Linked DNA regions of Homo sapiens: all the other regions are linked to region 2. The links are contacts of gene promoters, found by promoter capture Hi-C in blood cells and fetal thymus (Javierre and others, 2016). All regions are on one chromosome and are shown on one strand. The core of a region is centred on a gene start or on the middle of the fragment in contact, and the rest is flanking DNA. Distances in the headings are between cores, read along the strand shown.

Evidence for each region. The method cuts DNA at HindIII sites, captures the fragments that hold promoters and counts their contacts. A CHiCAGO score of 5 or more calls a contact.
Region 1: a fragment that was not itself captured here is called in contact with the fragment with the promoter of CARTPT in region 2 in 1 of 17 cell types (endothelial precursors); the score reaches 6.5 in endothelial precursors.
Region 3: a contact is called between a fragment that was not itself captured here and the fragment with the promoter of CARTPT in region 2, in 1 of 17 cell types (endothelial precursors). The highest score is 6.2, in endothelial precursors.

The regions. Positions count from the first base shown.
Region 1 is chr5:71,629,323-71,632,040 of GRCh38, reverse strand. All of the region lies in intron 7 of MCCC2 (methylcrotonyl-CoA carboxylase subunit 2), which reads right to left. Among named protein-coding and RNA genes, the nearest start is that of MCCC2, 43 kb to the right of the region's middle. The HindIII fragment of the contact is 151 bases long and covers 1,175-1,325 here.
Region 2 is chr5:71,718,001-71,720,700 of GRCh38, reverse strand. It overlaps CARTPT (CART prepropeptide), which reads right to left and starts at 1,426. Exons shown (of 3, transcript NM_004291.4): 1 at 1,249-1,426; 2 at 738-821; 3 at 1-193. The coding sequence starts at 1,407. The coding sequence ends at 86. RefSeq lists an enhancer at 402-1,288. The HindIII fragment of the contact is 2,457 bases long and covers 1-2,273 here.
Region 3 is chr5:71,651,326-71,654,025 of GRCh38, reverse strand. MCCC2 (methylcrotonyl-CoA carboxylase subunit 2) reads right to left here. Exons shown (of 17, transcript NM_022132.5): 16 at 1,272-1,357. Among named protein-coding and RNA genes, the nearest start is that of MCCC2, 65 kb to the right of the region's middle. The HindIII fragment of the contact is 812 bases long and covers 942-1,753 here.

The DNA.
Region 1 (2,718 bases), core at 1-2,500, 88 kb after region 2:
CCTGACTATACCTGTACTTTTTCTTCCATAGAACTAAAGAACACTGTGCTTTCTCATTCATGCACCTAGGAAACCTGGAGACTATTATCTTTACTCTTACAGGTGAAAAATCTAAGCCCAGAGTCACAAAGAACTTGCTTACAGTCCATAGCAAGCAATGGAGTCTCATTTGAGCCCACACGTTTCCAGCTTGAAAGACCTGGCCGGGCGCGGTGGCTCACGCCTGTAATCCCAGCACTTTGGGAGGCCGAGGCGGGTGGATCATGAGGTCAGGAGATCGAGACCATGCTGGCTAACAAGGTGAAACCCCGTCTCTACTAAAAATACAAAAAATTAGCTGGGCGCGGTGGCGGGCGCCTGTAGTCCCAGCTACTCGGGAGGCTGAGGCAGGAGAATGGCGTGAACCCGGGAAGCGGAGCTTGCAGTGAGCCGAGATTGCGCCACTGCAGTCCGGCCTGGGCGACAGAGCGAGACTCCGTCTCAAAAAAAAAAAAAAAAAAAAGAAGAAAGACCTGAAAGGCCATCCTCTTTCCCTATGTCATGCTGCCCTGACACATGTGGTCAAGACTTTGTGTCTGTGTGTGTGTTCCTCCCACTGCCTGGGATCTCTTCTTCTCACCTACCTGACGAATTCCCACTTACCCTTCAAGTCCCACCTCAAGTTGCCTCCTCTACACAGCTTTCCTGACCCGCCCAGGCCTTCTCCATGGTATTAATAGAGGACTGCCTGCCTATCCACGGTCCAAGGGCATTGCACTTACACCTCCAACACGGCATGTGTCAGAATGTAGTTCAGTAATGTGCATGTTATGTCTGTCATCTCCTCTATGCTGTGAATTCCTTGGTGGCAGGAACTGTGATTTATTCATCTTTGAATACTCAATAACATGCTGAAAAATTCCATTTACTATCACAAACTCTGCATAGGAAAGAGAGGTAGGAAAAAAATCTCCAAGATTACCTAAACCTAAGATCTAGCAGAATGTGGCCAAAAAGAAACAAACTCCAGTAATAAATTAAGAATAACTTAATTATAGCCAGAGAAATTCTACCAGGAAAAAGAAAGAAAAATAATTTAAGGCTAAATGCCAATCCAACCCCTTAGGAATTATTTATTGATTCCTATTTCTTTGAAGAAAAAGAAACAAATTAATCAACTCAAATAAGAAAAGCTTTTATTAGAATAATGAACATTAATCTAAAATATAGCACAGAGAGGTTGAAGGTAAAGAAAAAGTCTTTCTTGAGGGGAGCCCTGAAACAAAAAGAAAAAAGAAAAGAAAATACAGCATAGAAACAACTTATTACTCTCTACATCAAAAGCTTTGTCTTAAATATCCTTCTGCAGAGAGAGTTAGTTAAAATTTTCACCTCCAATTATTCCACCCCCAGAACTAAATTCTTGGTTCTTTTCCTTCCAAAACATTTAGTGTAAAATAACATTCAGTCCAGACAATAACAAATTATAAGAGGTGTCTGGATATTTAAAGTTGCAAAAAGGAATAAACAACAGATAAATTATATTTATTTTCAGGGATCTGACTAATATCAACCAAAAAAAAAAATAAGAATTTGTCATCAGTTAATATTTATTGAACACCCACAACGTTTGATAGTGTGATAGGTGCAAAGATGATAGAAGTCAAAGAGAAAATTAAAACAGCTCATTTGACTAAATGACAAGTTCAAAAGATAAACAAAAGACAGGAGAACAAAAAGCGCCTTCAAAAACTTGTCTTACTATCTGTTTTTTTCAACTACTCTAAGCTACTAAAAGCTACAGCACTACACCCCACACTACGTGCAAACCCTTCAAAGCCCTTTCTCAACATTCGGTCAAGCGTGCGTCAGAATTTAGAATTCTCTAAAGGATGAGGCTGCTGCTACTGCCTTTTTCTCCCTGTGAACATGGTCTTTCAAAGGTGGATTGCTGGATGGGGTCCAGTTCTCCAACAGAACTTCAGGCTTCCCTGGCTGCCAAGTGGCTTCTTTATAAGGTACAAGTTAACTGAATGGACATTGTAACTACTGACCCTTAGACAAAATCTTCTCTCTAAAACCCTTCGCATTATTCCACTATTATGATCTGCCTGTATTTCCAAAAAGATGTTTTCAAATTGTAGTCATATCTTTACTCATTTTCTAGTCAAAAAATAAACAAGAATGGCCCATGAAAGTTTGTACCTTTTACTATACAAAGGTAAATTTTGAGTGCATTTTCCTCTCATTAACAAATGACAGCTATCACATACAAGAGATAAATTAAAATAATAATAGTAATAATAATAATAATAATAATAATAATGGCTGCAGGCTTTTAAAATAATGCCTTAAGACTTTTACATTTGAAATGGCAGCCCTTCAGGCCTACCTGATCTTCAGTAAAAGTTATTAAAAATTAACACCCTCTTTTGGGAAATATACTTATTTTACATCAAAACATAAGCTCTATTTAACATATTCTTTCTAATGAATTTGTATTAGTATTCCATAACCAAAGATGATTCTTGGACAAATTTTTGAAGCAACAAACTTTTTGGAATAGAATTCACATACCATAAAATTCACTATTTTAAAGCATACAATTCAGTGGCTTTTAGTACATTCACAAAGTGCACAAAGTGTGCAACCATCACCACTACCCAATTCCAGAAAATTTCATCACTCCCAGAAGAAACCCCATCCTCATTAGCGGTCACTCCCATTCCACCCTCCTCC
Region 2 (2,700 bases), core at 177-2,676:
GCTTAAGCCAAACTCCAGGGAGGAAGGTGTGGTCCTCTGGGGAAAGTAGAGGGATGGGGATGTATGGAGGAGAATGGACGCCCCTTCATAAGCACTTCAGGAGGAAGGAATTGCAGGAGGTTCCTCGGGGACAGTCACACAGCTTCCCGATCCTTGCCCCTTTCCTCACTGCACACTGCTCACCGGCGTCACACTGAAACAACAAAATGTGTGGTCATCGAGTATGAACAAACCCAGGTTCCCAACAGGCAAGTCTCACAGTCAACGCAATTTCTGTCTCTTGAAAGGGGCAATTGGACCCCATCACCATCACAAGAGGTCTACGTACAGTCAGATCTGAAACAGGGAGCCTTGTGCTTATAACCTCAGTGAGAGTACATTTTTTAAAGAAACTTACATTATTAGTTTTATCCTAGTTTCTTCCACCTTTAAGTGGCGAGGGTTGGGGGGCGTGGGAAGGGGAGCATCACATTTCCTGGCTCCTTTTCTTGCCCTCTCAGAGGGGAAAAAAATCAGACCTTTTTCCTGAGCAACAAACAATAGACTTACACTTTCTTACAACCCCTGTTCCTGCTTTCCCATTTCCTCACCCGGGAAGGAAGAAGGAGCCCACAGAATCCTGCAAGCCCATTACCTAAGTTATTTAGCCACATCCTACGGAGAAGACTGTGTGTACGATTCAAGGCGGTGTACTTTCTCTTGGAAAAACACGGGAAGGGAGTGACCACAAACCTTACCATGGGGACTTGGCCATACTTCTTCTCATAGATGGGAACACGTTTACTCTTGAGCTTCTTCAAGACTTCTTGCAGCGCTTCGATCTGCAACACACCGCTTCGGAGCCTGAAGTTGCCGCCTTGGCTGCGAGCCCAGCCCAGGTGCGCACTTCCAGCCCTAGTTATAAGGAGCCCCGGACCCACACGCACTCTGCGGTGGGACTCCGCGGACACAGGGAATGGTCGAGGGGTGGAAACTTAGCGGACGCTGTCCCAGGTACTGACCGCGGGTCTCTGAGCCGCTGGGGTCCCTGTTGCTCAGAGGGGCCGGGATGAGGGATTCGCTCAACAGACTGCCAGGAGCCCGTGAGCTCGAGACGCTCTTCGGATGGCAGTGGGTGCCTGGGCGTTGCGCTCAGCTCCCCGCGCCCTGACTCTGGGAATAGGAGTGGGGGTGGGGGGAGGAGGGAGGCGTGCAAGAGAAGAGACAAGGCGACAGCTCAAGGGGGTCGAGAGCGAGGGGAATACCGACCAGCTCCTTCTCGTGGGAGGCATCATCCACGGCAGAGTAGATGTCCAGGGCTCGGGGCTGGAGCTCGGCGTCCTCCTGGGCACGGGTACCCAACAGAGGTAGCATCAGCAGCAGGGCGGCGCCCAGGAGGGGCAGCAGCCTCACGCGGGAGCTCTCCATCGTTCTGAAACTCGTCGTTGCTGGGGCACCACGCGCTCCCACCTTTTATAGTGAGCCCGAGCCCCCGTGCAGGAAAGAGGGAGGAGGCGAAGAAGGAAGGGGGTGTGGAGGAGGGCCCGGGTCAACCGTCTGTAGGCAGCGCTCCGCCGGCGCTTGACGTCAATGCCCGCCGGGTTCCAGGCGCCTGGGAACGAGGCTCTGCGCACAGATGGGCTAGAGCGCAGAGAACAGGACCCTGCGCCCCCAAAGGCTGTCAGTCTCACGGCAAGGGATGCTCCCCGAGGGGCCTGAGCTGAAGCCGAGGGGCTAGAGGTGAGGGACGGGAAGCGGGAGGGGCCTAGGAAATGGAAAATGCCTTCGGGTCAATGCACAGGCAGGAGAGTCGTTTCCCAACACCTAGCAGTGGTGACAGCTGCAACATCCACCTCGCCAGCCCTGCCTTGCCTCGCACCCCAACCCCAAGTGTGGCGGTGAGAAGGGGGTGTTGCCTCCAGACAGCCACATTTGCTGAGCACCTTACTCTGTGGGGTAGGGGAAGCAAACATACTATACAAAAGAAAGAGAAATAGTGGCCCTCCACGTGATGGGTTCTATGATGGAATCTGTGTGACAATAGTTAAAAGAAGAGAGGGAAAACAGACAAACCCGGATTCAGCAGTGGTGTTGGAAGTGCAGAGAGCCAGGCTCTGGTTCCCATCCTGGCTACACCACGTAAAAGTTGTATGACTTTGAACAAAATGAAGAACCTCTCCAAGCCTCAGCTTTCTCTTTTGTAGATCTAGGATTAAAAAGATATACCTCACAAAGTCATCAGTAGGATGAAATGAGAGATTAAGTATGTCAAACTCCTGGTTCTTAGCTAAGCTTCCCTGTCCCTCCTTTTTGAACTTTGAGGCTGCCCAGGCAAATTTAACCATCCCCAGAACCTCCCCCCACCCACCACCAACCCTTGGTATCCAAGAAGCCTGTCTAGAAAGAGAGTAAAAGAGTGAAAAGAAAGACAGCTCCATGATTATGAAAATATCTCCAGAGATCAGAAGTCAATGGTGAACCAGCTCCCCAACAACTTGGGAGAACAATGTGGCTTTTTTAAAAGTTGAGATCCTTACAGCCTGAATGCACAGGAAAATTCCTGTAGGAAAAGCAATGCTTTCCCGCTTAGACCTGCTTGCTCACCTGGCTTCCTTCACCACACCATCTTTCCCTCAACTGTTCCTAAATTCATCCACTCTTCTCCATCCCCATTACTACAACCCAGTCCTAGACAGCTGCCCCAGTCAACTTAATGTCTAC
Region 3 (2,700 bases), core at 98-2,597, 67 kb after region 2:
ACTCTGTCTTTAAAGAAAACAAAAACAAAAACACATACACACACCCAAATGGTATTATTTATCTCCTCAAACTAATTATGTTCTTGAAAATCAGTATGTTTTGTCTTTGTATCCACCAAGGAACCATTCAAATGATTGTAATGGACTCTAACTTTTGCTTTTTTTTTTTTTTTTTGAGATAGGGCCTTGTTCTGTCACCCAGGTTGGAGCACAGTGGCATGATCTCGGCTCACTGCAGCCTTGACCTCCCAGGTTCAACTGATCTGCTTGCCTCAGCCTTCTGAGTAGCTGGGACTACAGGTGCACACCATCACGCCTGGCTAATTTTTGTATATTTTTTGTAGAGACTGGGTCTCACCATGTTGCCCCGCTAGTTTCGAACTCCTGGGCTCAAGCAATCTGCCCGCCCTGGCCTCTCAAAATGCTGGGATTATAAGTGTGAGCCACTGTGCCTGGCCTGATTTTCTTTTCTCTCCCCTCTCCTCTCCAGTTTGCCTTCGCCAGCATAAATTACAACATAAGCTAATTTTACAAGATGCAGAAAGAGTTACTTTCTTTTTTCCATCTGCCCAAGGGATGAAAGGAAGACATGAAGCTTAGATTAGTCTTCGGAATGCAGAACACTAAAGTTGTTGAAGAAAGATGTGAAAGCAGGCACCAGCAGGTCTTCAGCTGGGACAGGCATGATAATTTATTACCTCATTAAGTGGTGTAAGAAAAAAACCGAGCCAACAGCGGCAATGGTCTGTGAGGTAATTATTTGGCGCCGACACACAGACCCTGGCAGTGACTAATCACCTTTCAAACGTACAAGCATACTTGTCAACAAATGCCAGTAAGTGTTCAACCAATCTCATGTTTAAAATGGGGTAAAAACAAAATGATCAAGGAGAGGGGTTTTTAAGCAAAAATTAGAACTTCTGAAGTAACACAGCCAAGCTTATAACTTATTCTCGGCTCCTAACATGGCCCACCTTGGGCTGCAGGACCCCTCCAGGCCCCAGACACCTCAACTAGGGGGAAGACAAGGGAAGCGAGAATCAGACCACTGGTGGTGAGTCCACAGTGCAGGGATGCTGGGAGGAGGGGTGGCATTTCAGCAGTAGCCATTCAGATTGTAAAGAAACAACAGTACAAAATTAAGTGTGTCCAAATGTTATTTTCCAGTTCCTATGAATGCTGGACCATCTCAACTACACAGAGCTCTGTAAAGCTGTTCCTCTGACTGCCATCTGCACCCATCAGAGAGTTAGTGATGTTCTGGCCCCCACCTTGCGCTGGAATAGTAAGGGTTTCCTTCCTCTTCAAACTTCTTAATGATGGGCTCTTTTAAAGCCGCTTCATCAGCACTGGAGAACTAAAGGAAAAGAGGCCATGAGTAAGTCAGCTTCAGTGAACAACTGGCCCTGTTTAGATCATCTCAATTCAAAAGAAACAACAGATGTCATGAATAATAATGTTACATCTAACATGTGCATAGTGATGTATAAATTACAAGTGATCATTAACATACACGCTAAGACATGAGTATCAAGTTAGTGCCCCATCCCATCTCTCCTAACAGAGACAATATCCTGAGGCTATTTCACGTAAGGTGAAAGCCCAGGGTACTGTGTATCACAGCAAGGTACAATAATAGATGTGAATTATACAACCCAACAAAAGGGCTGCATTACACTTAGCAACCTCCAGTTAAGAATGTGGAAAAGTATGAGATTCTCATTTAAAATAGCCAAAATTTAAAACTTAAGCTTAAATGTTTAAGCTTAAAGGGGTAAAATACCAACCAAATCTTGAATAACCTTTTCAGTCAAGTTCCCAGAGAACTGAGAGATATTTTCCCCTAATTAAGAATTTCACAGCCTTCCCATCAGTATTACAAGGATCAAGTGATAATTAATTCAGATGTAAAAATCTTCAGAACTTAATTTGAAACCCTGAAAAATACTTTCAACTCAAAAAGCAACTCGACAGCAGAAACAAAGACTTATTTCAAATAAACTCTACCTTCTTTTACGTAAATATGCTAATACCTTAATATCATTTTCTAGGTCACGAATTCTGAGGGAGAACCATTAACACACTGTGCTTTCCTTTCCTGTATAAAAATGAATGAATTCAAGTATCTGTATATTGAAGTAATCAAAGAACAACTACTTAATAAGAGATCACCATGCTAGGCTTCATAGAGTTTCAGACATGTCTTTGAAGTATCAGGTAGAATTTCATATCTCACCTCCCCCACCCACACACCCACACCCCAACCACTCGCACAAAAGCAAAGCTATCTGTTTCCTTTGATACTAGTAGGTACTAAAGTGAATCTGAAACCTCAATGTAAGTCTCCAGAGTTCCGAGTGCTTGGAAAAGACAACTAGGGATGTGAGGCATGGATGGATGCATTCAGGGAGGCAGTACCTCACTCCACAATCTAGGTGGAAGACCTGATGATTCCTGCACAGAGCAGACAGGGCTCCCTCCATTCCATCCCTTCCCATAATGAGACAACAGTGTACCTAAGCAACTTCAGGAACACACAACCATCATCTTCATACTTGGTGCTTACACAGGAGTTAAAAGTTGTAACTAATAAAAATTAATGCAAAATTTCAAACAATCTCCAACAGAGACACAAACAAAAGAATTCATTTTAAAAGCAGCCGCTTGCTGATCTGCCTTTCATCAAGTTTCCACTGCCCT